Linked DNA regions of Homo sapiens: region 2 is linked to region 1. Evidence: promoter capture Hi-C in human tissues and cell types (Jung and others, 2019). All regions are on one chromosome and are shown on one strand. Each heading gives the region's core, a stretch centred on a gene start or on the middle of the fragment in contact. The rest is flanking DNA. Distances are from core to core; before and after follow the strand shown. Region 1 holds the start of OXTR (oxytocin receptor). Region 2 overlaps LMCD1-AS1 (LMCD1 antisense RNA 1).

Evidence for each region. The method cuts DNA at HindIII sites, captures the fragments that hold promoters and counts their contacts. A contact is called where the count stands out against the background at its distance.
Region 2: a contact is called between a fragment that was not itself captured here and the fragment with the promoter of OXTR in region 1, in 1 of the 25 tissues and cell types used here (stomach).

Annotation. Positions count from the first base shown.
Region 1 is chr3:8,768,363-8,774,761 of GRCh38, forward strand. OXTR (oxytocin receptor) reads right to left here and starts at 1,251. Exons shown (of 4, transcript NM_000916.4): 1 at 869-1,251; 2 at 134-229. RefSeq lists enhancers at 47-718, 1,366-1,415. The HindIII fragment of the contact is 11,538 bases long and covers 1-6,399 here.
Region 2 is chr3:8,434,680-8,441,377 of GRCh38, forward strand. All of the region lies in intron 3 of LMCD1-AS1 (LMCD1 antisense RNA 1), which reads right to left. Among named protein-coding and RNA genes, the nearest start is that of LMCD1-AS1, 64 kb to the right of the region's middle. RefSeq lists an enhancer at 6,108-6,625. The HindIII fragment of the contact is 5,752 bases long and covers 241-5,992 here.

The DNA.
Region 1 (6,399 bases), core at 1-2,500:
CCGCGTTTCTCTTCCGACGCGGGTAGGGCGTGCTTGTCCCATTCCCAGGAACCCAACTCATCTGAAACAACAGGGCACAACCGCCGGCCTCGGGTTGCTCAGCCGCCACCCCAGAAATCCCCGTTGGAGGTACCTCCTCTGAGCCACTGCAAATGAGCGGGAATCCTCTACCGGCCACAAGCCCAGAGCCCCCAGCGTGCCAGTTCCTCGGGATGTTCAGCGGCTTCCACTGGGGGAGAAGGGAGGGTCAAAATCAGCAACGTTCCTCCGGGAGTGGGAATCTAAAACCAAATCACCTCCCCGAGGGAATCTCCAAACTACCTACTCGCCCCAGGCTCCGACCCTCAGCATATCCACCTGCCGCGGGACCCCCAAACCAGCCCCTCTCCTAGTAAACATTAATTCAAGTACTTCCTCCGGAAATCCCCAAATAGCCACTTGCCTGGGAAACCCCAGCTCTGGTCCTTCCCCGTCTAACCCCCTTTTCTAAGACGGTCGGCCGTCACTCCCTGAACTTCCACAGCACCTGCTTCGGTGGAAACCCGGTTCTGCAGTCCCTGCTGGGGGAACCCCTGCCTCAAAGCCCAAGATGCCCAAGCGCTGTTCCCAGACCCTGGCATAGACACCTCCCGCGGGGCTCCTCCCCAGCCCGGCAGCCTCGAAAGTTCTGGAACCCCTGACTTGCGCTTTGGACCCAGATAATCAAGGACTCTGAGTCTCAATCCCGAGAAGTCACTTTACAATCTCTCGGAACACCCCGAGCTCCTCCAGGAACAAGGAGTGCGAGGCACCCCACCACCTCCACTCGGGTCCCGATGGCTCCACCGGCCCTAGCCATCCCGTCCACCCCTGCTTAGCACCCAGCTACCTGCACCGAGTCCGCAGGCGAACCTAAAGTTGACTCCCCCCGGGGAAGTTGCACGGCGACTGACGGCCCCAGTGACGCGTGCGCTCCCGGCCCGAGTTGGGATGGCCTGCCGGCTGCACCTAATGTGATGCTAAGCTGAGGTCTCTCACTGGAGCCTCGGTTGGAATCCCCTCGCCGCAGCCTGGCTGGTCGCTGGATGGGTACAGGAGGCGAGCGAGGAGCGCCTCCCAGGCTGCGCGCGCGGACAGCGTCTGGATGCGGCGCTGTGCGCTGGGGCTGAGGCTGCACTATCGCACGGGTCCGCTAGGGGGCGGGCGAGGCCAGCCGCGCAGACCCCTCCGGAGCGGAGCTGGTTCGCCCAGCGTTGGTCCCAGAGCCTTAACAAATGGGTTTATTTTGCAGTGGTTTAAAACTGCGAGAGGGAGGGAACTCGTCAATAACCCGCCCGTTTCTTCCTTTCTTGGTTTAGAAGCTCTTGACTCCGAGACACATAGGAGGCTTGAATAATAATGTTCTTCCCCGGGTAGATAGTGATGAAGTTACAAAAGCATTTAAACTGATTATTTCCCAAAAATGATGTTAATTTTCAGGCTTTTCTCTCCCCCCACACCTCCAGCTTGATGTAGCGGCTTTAGCAGTGAACTCAAATAAGTCTTTGCTTTGGAATACTTTTGTTCCTATTCCCGTTAATGAGGAATTAGAAATGGCCTCTATTCTAAGCAGTGCTGGGAGAGGCGTTATTTTTTCGGTAGTTTTAGAGGAAATTCTGAAGCACAACACTGTCTTCATTTAAAGTGATTCTGCTTGTCTGCGCCCAAGAGCCGTTTCTGCCTCCTTGTCGCGCTTCGGAATTAAAATTCTAAATGATGCCAAAGGAAGATAAAATGTTAAAGACAGCTTCTCAGCCTCCCTGCCCCTTCTCTATTCTAAAATCATTTTTTGAAGTAATTTACAGTGGCCAAGAATTAAGTCAGAAAAAAAGGCCAGGATTCAAAAATAAACAGGGCTCTTTAAAATGCATTAAATGTGTATTTCCTCCTGACATTTCACTTCTCCGTCTTTTTATTATGTGGAGAGACTTGAGTTAGCCAAGGACTGGGTTTCCTTAATCCACAATTACAGCCCCATGCCGAGATATCCCAGGGGCCAACCTTACAGCACCTGGATCCCAGGGTTCTAGCTGAGTAATCATTCCAGAATGGGGCTGGGAATCTTGACAGCATTGCCAAGGGGTGGCAGGCAGTATTAATCAATATTAGTCAATAGTACCTATCGGCCTCGAAAATTACAGATTAAAGTTACAGACGACTCAGGTGAGAATGAAGTGACCTTGGGCAAGCCCCTTCTCTTTGGGCCTCAGTCTCCTCATATGTAAAATGAGAGCACTGGTCAAGATAGCTAATGTCTGAGGTCCTGTCCCTCTGGTTTTCTGAAACTGTATAATCTGTGCAATCTGAGGGTTCAATCCTAGCAGGTAAAACACCCCTGCCTCACTCCACGGCTGGATGAAGGCAGATTTTTCCCTATGAGCCCCTGACCGGTGAATGTGAGAAGGAAAACACTGGCCTGTAGAACCAAGCCTGCCCTTCTTTCTCCTGGAAGACAGCTGCTTTCTAGGGAGCAAGTTTACTGAGCCACTTCACCAAGGACAGACTCTTCTACCCTTTGTAGGGAAGCCTGCCTACCTGTGTGGTCCTCGCGTAGCCCGTGAGACAGCCTAATTCTGGATTCACCTAACAGGGCTATTTAGTCTCATGCAAAAGGTAAATTCTCTAACTTAGTTTTAATCTAAACAACAACAATAACAACAACAGTAATAGTGTGATCCCCATTTCCTGTCTTTTGTTTTATTTCTCATTGTGTGCAGAAACCAGGCAGGAAATAGAGAGGTCCCCTTGAAAACTCCTAACAATGAATAAGACATGCTCCTTCACCTTTGAGCTTCGGCCAGGGAGAAAAACACATATTAGATTGGTGCAAAAGTAATTGTGGTTTTTGCTATTAAAAATAATGGCAAAAACTGCAATTACTTTTGCATCAACCTAATATTTGCAGTGTGACAACAATAAATGATGTTACAGAAGTGAGGACTGCTGGGGGCTGAGGTAATACTTGGGAGATCGTTTTACAAAGAGGTAGCTGGATTTCAGAGCTCCAGAATGAGTTCTCCAGGAAGCAAAGAAAAAAGGCATACTTCTCAGAGAGTGGTGCAGGGGAATCACTTTGGCGTTTTGGAGGAAGGACTAAAGATGAATTGCTTGGTGCCTAGCACATTGCCAGCACTTAATACATACAGTTGGCCCTCTATATCCCTGTATCTGTGAGTTCAGTGGATTCAAACAATCATGGATTGAAAATATTCAGGAAAAAAAATCCTCAAAGTTCCAAAAAGCAAAAATTGAATTTGTCATGTGCCACCTACAACACTGAATGCACACAAATGCAGTGACGAGTGACATTGCATTAGGTGTTACAAGTAATCTTGAGATGACTTAAAGTATGTGAGAGGATATGCACGTGTTATATGCAAATACTGCTTCATTTTATATCAGGGATTTGTGTACCTTGAAGGCTCCCGGAACCAATCCCCCATGGATACCAAGAGATAACTGTACTTATTGATGCTAAAGGAACTTCAAGGCCATGTAAAGGAGAATGGGTTTTATTCTGTAACCCAACATTCCCCAAAATATGGGATGGAATACTTTCTGATAGTGTTAAATGTGAATTTAATATTGAGTGATACTGAATAACAGGGAGGAAATTCAGTTCTCAGTTCTGCTTACTTTTGACGTCAGCAAAGAGAAAGTCTGATATAACAAAAATCATGAAGGTGCTAGTGTAAAGATGACTGAGGTTAGAAGGCATTGGTGGGGAAGGTGGGGTGCCTGGAAGGACTGCAAGCAAAACAACGTACTCAAATCTGTGCTTGGTGAGAGAATGCTGGTAGCCACAGGGAAGATGGGAAAGGAGATACTGGCATTATGAAGGCCTTGGAGATCCAGGCAAGAGATGCTGTAGGCATGGACAAAAGATGTGACATTACAGGGTGTCTTTCGGTCTTCCAAAGAAACAGAACCATTGGGATGTATATATGTAGAGAAAGAGATTCATTTAAGGAATTGGTTCATGTGTTATGGAGGCTGGCAAGTCCAAAATCTTCAGAGTGAGCTGACAGGCTGGAGACCCAGGGAAGAGCTGATTTTGCAGGTCAAGTCCAAAGGTCCTCTGCTGCGGAATTCCTTCTTGCTCAGGGAGGTCAGTCTTTTGTTCCATATAGACCTTCAACTGATTGGATAAGCCCACCAACGTTATGGTGGGTGATCTACTTTGTTCCAGATGTTAATCTCATCCAAAAATACCCTCACAGAAACATCCCGAATAATATTTGACCAAATATCTGGGCACCATGGCCCAGCCAAGCTGACACACAAAATGAACCATCACAGACAGAGATTCAGCAATCCCTGATTTACAAATGTCTTCATCTGTCTGAGTATCCGGGCATCTTTTTTTTTTTTTTATTTTAAGTTCTGGAGTTCATGTGCAGTATGTGCAGGTTTGTTACATAGGTAAATGTGTGCCATGGTGGTTTGCTGCACCTATCAACCCATCACCTAGGTATTAAGCTTAGCACATATTAGCTATTTTTCCTGATGCTCTCCCTCCCTCTGCCCCCGTGACAGGCCCCAGTGTGTATTGTTCCCCTCCCTGTGTCTGTGTTCTCATCATTCAGCTCCCACTTATAAGTCAGAACATGTGGTGTTTGGTTTTCTGTTCCTGTATTAGTTTGCTGAGGTTAATGGCTTCCAGCTCCATCCATCCTGCAAAGGACATGATCTTGTTCCTTTTTATGGCTGCATAGTATTCCATGGCATATATATCTATATATATCTATATATATATATATCTATATATATCTATATATATATAATCTATATATATCTATATATATATAATCTATATATATCTATATATATATAATCTATATATATCTATATCTATATAATCTATATATATCTATATAATCTATATATATATAATCTATATATATCTATATCTATATAATCTATATATATCTATATATAGATTATATAGATATAGATATATATATATATATCTCACATTTTTTTCTTTATCCAGTCTATCATTGATGGGCATTTGGGTTGATTTCATGTCTTTGCTATAGTGAATAGTGCTGCAGTGAACATACATGTGCAGGTATCTTTACAATAGAATGATTTATATTCCTTTGGGTATATACCCAGTAATGAGATTGCTGGGTAAAATGGTCTTTCTGGTTCTAGGTCTTTGAGGAATTGCCACTCCATCTTCCACAATGGTTGAACTAATTTGCATTACCACCAATAGTGTAAAAACATTCCTATTTCTCCAGATCCTTTACAGCATCAGTTGTTTCTTGACTTCTTAATAATCACCATTCTGACTGGCATGAGATGGTATCTTATTGTGGTTTTTATTTGCATTTCTCTAATGATCAGTGATGTTGACCTTTCTTTCATACGTTTGTTGGCCACATAAATGTCTTCTTTTGAGAAGTGTCTGTTCACGTCCTTTGCCCACTTTTTAATGGGGTTGTTTTTTTCTTGTATCCAAGCATCTTAAAGGTGGGGCCAATATTGTCTATACCTGTACTTCGAAAGGCCTAGGTCACTATAGAATAGGCACCTTTCAGGTATTTGTTAAATACAGAAGGATAAAAGGAAGGGGGAAAGGAGGGAAGAAATAAACATCTCCATGGGCAGAACCAGGCCCTCTGGGGAAGGTATCCTGCCCAGAGAATGACCTGTCCTGTACCCACTTCTGCCTCTGGGAACTGGGTCTGAGTTTTAGCATCTTGGGAATTTTCCAGCCCTGGCACATTTATTTCAACATGGATCCAAGCCCAAGCGGCCTTTGCTCTATTGTCAGAGTGGAAATGAGCTATAAACACATCCAACCTACCCCCTCCCTAACATCACCGCCTCCCCAGCCTGCCCCCAAATAACTTCTCAGCCTCTGCTTGGGCTCCTAGCTCCAGGAGGGGGGTCAGTGACATGCTCTCAGGCATAAAGGCTGAGAACACATTGTAGCAATCAGCCTGCTGCTGGCACACTTGATCTTCTTACATTTATAGCTCTGTGCGGATGCAGGCACATCAGGGCACATGGGCTGACCTGGGAAGTTCCTGAGGCCGTGCCAGGATGCTGTGTCAGGAGGCCACTGCTTATAGGTAGAACTTGCACGGATTCCTTCTAGCCTGTGTGATTTTGGACTTCCCAGCCTTTGTTTTCATTCCTGTGTTCCATGCAGGGTGGAGAAAGAGAGAAAAATGTGCTTTCCTATTGGAGAGAGCTCTGAATCTGCAGCAGTAAGTGCTTGCTAGCATCTGGATTTTACCACGTTTTGTCAGCGTGGCTAAGGTACTGAACTTCTCTGAGACTTGGTTTCCCCAGGTGCTGATCACATGAGGCTGTGTGTATAAACCAAACTTAATGCACATGAAGAGTGCTTCACAAACAGCAGAGAAC
Region 2 (6,698 bases), core at 1,867-4,366, 330 kb before region 1:
TCCTTGACATTTTTCTAGAGGAATCTAGAAGCCCTCCACTCTGTCTGGTAAGCTCTCAGGATGAGGGTAGAGGTCTTCAGGCAGCCATGGCCACACGATGTGGAAGGAATCGCACCCAGGAAGAGAAATTCAAGCCATCGTGCAGACAAAGAGAGAGAGAGAGATGAAGAACAAGGAAACCCTGCCAGCCTCTGAGTGCCTGGTCCCAATTGTCACAAAGCTAGTCCCATCCCCACCCTTGCTGTAGTTTGGTTTCATCAGCCAGTGAAGTCCCCTCTTTGACTAAGCTATTTTAATTTAAATTTCTGTTATTTTCAACCAAAGAAACCCAATCATTACAATCACCTCGTTCACCATTCATTCACCCAACATAGAGTTATTGAGTGATAAAAATATACTAAGCATTGTGGACTTAGCCTGCATCCCGGTCTAGACGCTGTGAAAGAAGAAAGGAAAGGGATTGCTAAGTGCCTAAATATGACAGCAAGTGCTGACCATAAGCAAACACAATGCCTCCTTCAAGCGCAGCAAGAATTCTCCCAAGAAGGTATTCTTGTTCCCACTTTACAGACAACAAAACTGAGGTACAGAGAACACGCTCACTATCGTATTAGTAATGACAATTATTATCATTCATTGAGTGTTCACTATACAGCAGGTGTTGGGCTAAGAGCTTCATAGGGATTAATCCACTGTCTTTCAGTGACTTTGAGGTGCCATAACTTATAAGACATGTCATTAATTCAAAAGAAAAAAATTATTATGAATTATCGTAGTAAGACACTTGTTATGGGTTAAATCGTGTCCCCTCAAAATTCCTGTATTGAAGTCCTAATCCCCAGTATCTCAGAATCTGACCTTATTTGGAAATAAAATCATTGGATGCAATTAGTTAAAATGAGGTCACACTGGAGTAGAGCAGACCCCTACTCCAACGTGACTTGTGTTCATATGAAAAGAACTTCAAGTGAAGACACACACACACACGAAGAACGCAATGTGAAGATTGGAGTTCTCCTGCCAGAAACTGAGGAGCTACCAGAAGCTCAGAGAAAAGCCTGGAACAGACCCTTCTCTAGCACCTTCAGAGGGATTGTGGCTCTGCATGCACCATGATCTCAGACTTCCAGCCTCCAGACCTGGGGGACAATAAATTTCTGTTGTTGAAGCCTCTCAGTTTCTGGTACTTTGTAGAGCAGGCCTAGCAAACTACTGTAACATTGTTGCTTGGAAGATGCATTTGAATTATGAGATCTTAAAACATCAATTGTACAATCACTAGATAAGATTGTTTGATCTTTACAACAAATCTGCAAACCTACAAAACCTGACAAAACTAGCCCCATTTTACAGATGGAGAAATTGGGGCACCAAATGCCTTATGTAATCCTCATGTTATGCACTGGTGGAGCCAGGACTCAATGCAATTCTGGGTTCTTAAAAATTGTCCTGGCTGGGCGCAGTGGCTTATGCCTGTAATCCCAGCACTTTGGGAGGCTGATGCGGGCGGATCATGAGGTCAAGAGATCGAGACCATCCTGGCTAACACGGTGAAACCCTGTCTCTACTAAAAATACAAAAAATCAGCTGGGCATGGTGGCGGGCGCCTGTATTTCCAGCTACTCGGGAGGCTTAGGCAGGAGAATGGTGTGAACCTGGGAGGCAGAGCTTGCAGTGAGCTGAGATGGTGCCACTGCACTCCAGCCTGGGTGACAGAGCAAGACTTCGTCTCAAAAACAAAAAAAAGAAGTGTCCTGCACTGCCTCCCAGATGTCCCCATAACCACCCACACTTGCAGGTGCAAGCAAGCACGTACACACGCATGCACACACACACACATACACACACAGAGCTATTTAATTTTCAGGCCATTTAGAGTAACTAACAAAGTTTCATTTCCAAAGGGGAATGACCATCTATGCCCAAAGGAATTCTTCACTCTCTATTGCTCTTCTAACTTCTATTACCAAAAACAATTCGAACTGTGGCACTTTGGCCAGATTTCTGCCGGGTGGCTCAAGTTCTGCATCAAGTCGTGGAGATTCCTCAGCCTGCCCCTTGGTGCAGTCCTAACCATAACATATCAGATCAGCACAGAGAGCTCCTCAAGGACCCAGCGGAAACACTGACAGAGGCCACAGTTTGCTCCTTCTGCACAATAAATGGGACACAAAGTCCCCAGAAGACTAAGCCAGAATGTTTTTGAAGTTTCCCAGATGGTTTAGGGGACATCTGTGTCATGGTCTGGCAACCCCGCTAAATTCTGAGCGAGCCATTCACCCTTTCATCACGTCTCCAATGTTCTTTTAATTCTGAGAAGCATCTTGAGAAATGTGCATTTGTGACACCCCCGAGGGATATTTCACTGAGCAAGGAATGGAGAAAATGTAAAAACCAGTGATTCCAGGGTTTTCGTTGAAGAGCTCATGACCAAGTGCAATGACTCCTGTGAACAAGGCTGATCAGAAACTGGTGTTTGCCAGTCTACCAACAGGAAAGCAGGCTTGGATGTTTGTTCATGCAATATTCTTGGTGCCTAGTGCAGAGCCTAGTACATAGGAAGCACTCAATAAATCTTGCAGAATTAATGAGAAAGGAAAGCTTCCTCTGTCTGAAGTTTTCCAGCCCCCTTGCTGTGTCTGAAATTTTATCATTAAAAATTCATTCCTTTGGACTTAAATTAAAAGTCTGCTGGTAAAATGCACAACTTCTAAGAGGAGACAGACCTTCAGTACTGTGAATTTATTCTCTCAACCAGGACTGAAAGTCAGACCTTTTAGAATAAGTGCTTCTCAAAGTGGCCCAAGAGGAGGACTGGGATGATCCCCTGGGGTATAGGAGAAAAACATTCATCTCTTATTTATGTTTACTTTTTCTCATTATTCTTAAATTTCTACTTGTGTGTGCTTTACAATGAAATAATATATACTGATTTAAGACACATAGACTATTTGTAAGTGACACACAGCTGAGAGATTCTTCGTTGTTGTACTTTTTGGGTTTTTTGTTTTACAACTGAGGTACAGTCAAAAAATTAAAAATCACTGTATTTTGCAAATGGGAGCTTTCTTTGTTTTTGTTTGTTTGTTTATTTGTTTGTTTTTTGTGAGACAGAGTTTCACTCTGTCGCCCAGGCTGGAGTGCAATGGTGCTATCTCAGCTCACTGCAACCTCCGCCTCCTGGGTTCAAGCGATTCTCCTGCCTCAGCCTCCTGAGTAGCTGGGATTACAGGCATGTGCCACCATGCCCGGCTAATTTTTACATTTTTAGTAGAGACGGGGTTACACCATGTTGACCAGGCTGGTCTGGAACACCCGACCTCAGGTGATCTGCCCACTTCGGCCTCCCAAAGTGCTGGGATTACAGGCGTGAGCCACTGCACCTGGCTGAGCTTAATGTTTTTTAAAGCAGGGAGATGAAATGGTTAAAGTCCATACTACAACTTTCTATTCTCCTGAGTTTTAAACCCCCCCAAAAAACTCATTGCACATTTCCTCCAACTATCTGGTTGCTTCTTTTGCTATTTCATGTTAAGTTGAACTAGCCATAGATTTGTATGCTTTACGAATTTTGGTCAAATGCATGGCTACCTGGGGTATACTTTTAAGGGTAGCAGTCCAGTTCTAAGCGGCCAATCGCATTCATCTGCTCAAGGGTCAAGGGGGCTGACATTTTCCACATTTATGACTCTTTTGAGTTTCACACTGGAAAAAGGGTATTAAAAATAATGATTTAGAACATGCTGTGTGCCAATTGTGCATTGGCATCTGAAATATAAAAGAGAAAGTGAGGACATGGGGAAGAAGGGAGAGTTGAAGATTTCACTGTTCACTGGGGAACACAGGCATGTGAATATATGACTCTAAAATCCAGTATAATAGGTGCCTGATATGCAGTGGGTTTTTGGTAATTAGTGTTGATTAAATGAGGGGCTGAAAAAGGAGTTAAAGAGAAATAAGAAGTGTCTGGAGGCGCGAGAGGAACAAGTGCCTGGCTGGGTCTGATCAGGGCAGGGCGGACTCACAGAGTCACTGGCTTGTGGGTGGCAAGGTTCCAGGAATGACTTTGCCAGGCAGGGGGAAGAAGGTCATGGAGTTCCAGGTGTGAGATAAAGCACCAAACTTAAGAAGTCGAGTTTGCCCCCTTTTGTTTGTGAGCAGAATTTCACAAAAACCCTGACTCTGTGATGACATGCAGCTCTCCAGAAAAATGCTCTCAACATTGAACAGGCTATAGCACGCGGCCTCCTGCATCTCTTGCCTGAGTCATTGTATTCCTTAAAAGATGAATGATGAGAGGCTGAAGTGAAGTTACAAAGGTTACACACTGCCCTCTCCCTCCCCCTCCCCCTCCCCCTCCCCCTCTCCCTCTCCCCACGGTCTCCCTCTCCCTCTCTTTCCACGGTCTCCCTCTGATACCGAGCCGAAGCTGGACTGTACTGCTGCCATCTCGGCTCACTGCAACCTCCCTGCCTGATTCTCTTGCCTCAGCTTGCCGAGTGCCTGCGATTGCAGGCAGGCGCCGCCACGCCTGACTGGTTTTCGTATTTTTTTGGTGGAGACGGGGTTTCGCTGTGTTGGCCGGGCTGGTCTCCAGCTCCTAACCGCGAGTGATCCGCCAGCCTCGGCCTCCCGAGGTGCCGGGATTGCAGACGGAGTCTGGTTCACTCAGTGCTCAATGGTGCCCAGGCTGGAGTGCAGTGGCGTGATCTCGGCTCGCTACAACCTCCACCTCCCAGCCGCCTGCCTTGGCCTCCCAAAGTGCCGAGATTGCAGCCTCTGCCCGGCCGCCACCCCGTCTGGGAAGTGAGAAGCGTCTCTGCCTGGCCGCCCATCATCTGGGACGTGAGGAGCCCCTCTGCCTGGCTGCCCAGTCTGGAAAGTGAGGAGCGTCTCTGCCCGGCCGCCATCCCATCTAGGAAGTGAGGAGCACCTCTTCCCGGCCACCATCCCATCTAGGAAGTGAGGAGCGCCTCTTCCCGGCCGCCATCCCATCTGGGAAGTGAGGAGCGTCTCTGCCTGGCCGCCATCCCATCTAGGAAGTGAGGAGCACCTCTTCCCGGCCACCATCCCATCTAGGAAGTGAGGAGCGCCTCTTCCCGGCCGCCATCCCATCTGGGAAGTGAGGAGCGTCTCTGCCCGGCCGCCATCCCATCTAGGAAGTGAGGAGCACCTCTTCCCGGCCACCATCCCATCTAGGAAGTGAGGAGCGCCTCTTCCCGGCCGCCATCCCATCTGGGAAGTGAGGAGCGTCTCTGCCCCGCCGCCCATCGTCTGAGATGTGGGGAGCGCCTCTGCCCGGCCGCGACCCCGTCTGGGAGGTGAGGAGCGTCTCTGCCCGGCCGCCCCGTCTGAGAAGTGAGGAGCCCCTCCACCCGGAAGCCGCCCCGTCTGAGAAGTGAGGAACGTCACCACCCGGCAGCCACCCCGTCCAGGAAGGAGGTGGGGGTCACCCACCGCCAGGCCAGCCGCCCCGTCCAGGAGGGAGGTGCGGGGGTCAGCTCCCCACCCGGCCAGCCGCCCCGTCCGGGAGGGAGGTGGGGGGGTCAGCCCCCCGCCCGGCCAGCCGCCCCCTCTGGGAGGTGGGGGGCGCCTCTGCCCGGCCGCCCCTACTGGGAAGTGAGGAGCCCCTCTGCCCGGCCAGCCGCCCCGTCCGGGAGGGAGGTGGGGGGGTCAGCCCTCTACCCTGCCAGCCGCCCCATCCGGGAGGGAGGTGGGGGTGTCAGCCCCCTGCCCGGCCAGCCGCCCCGTCCGGGAGGTGAGGGGCGCCTCTGCCCGGCCACCCCTACTGGGAAGTGAGGAGCCCCTCTGCCCGGCCAGCCGCCCCGTCTGGGAGGTGGGGGTGCCTCTGCCCGGCCGCCCCTACTGGGAGGTGAGGAGCCCCTCTGCCCGGCCAGCCGCCCCGTCCGGGAGGGAGGTGGGGGGGTCAGCCCCCTGCCCGGCCAGCCGCCCCGTCCGGGAGGTGAGGGGCGCCTCTGCCCGGCCACCCCTACTGGGAAGTGAGGAGCTCCTCTGCCCGGCCACCACCCCGTCTGGGAGGTGTGCCCGGCAGCTCAATGAGAACGGGCCATGATGACAATGGCGGTTTTGTGGAGTAGAAAGTGGGGAGAGGTGGGGAAAAGAGTGAGAAATCGGATGGTTGCCGTGTTTGTGTAGTAGGAGGTAGACATGGGAGACTTTTCATTTTGTTCTGTACTAAGAAAAATTCTTCTGCCTTGGGATCCTGTTGATCTGTGACCTTACCCCCAACCCTGTGCTCTCTGAAACATGTGCTGTGTCCACTCAGGGTTAAATGGATTAAGGGCGGTGCAAGATGTGCTTTGTTAAACAGATGCTTGAAGGCAGCATGCTCGTTGAGAGTCATCACCACTCCCTAATCTCAAGTACCCAGGGACACAAACACTGCGGAAGGCCGCAGGGTCCTCTGCCTAGGAAAACCAGAGACCTTTGTTCACTTGTTTATCTGCTGACCTTCCCTCCACTATTGTCCTGTGACCCTGCCAAATCCCCCTCTGTGAGAAACACCCAAGAATGATCAATAAAAAATAAATTAATTTAAAAAAAAAAAAAGATGAATGATGGTAATCCTTGCCTTGCCCTATAGGTAAGATAACGTCTGGCTTGGGGGCGGGGTGTTGTGATTATGCCTCTGCAATCTGTCATCAGATGCACTCTCACACCCAAACTTTGATGTGATT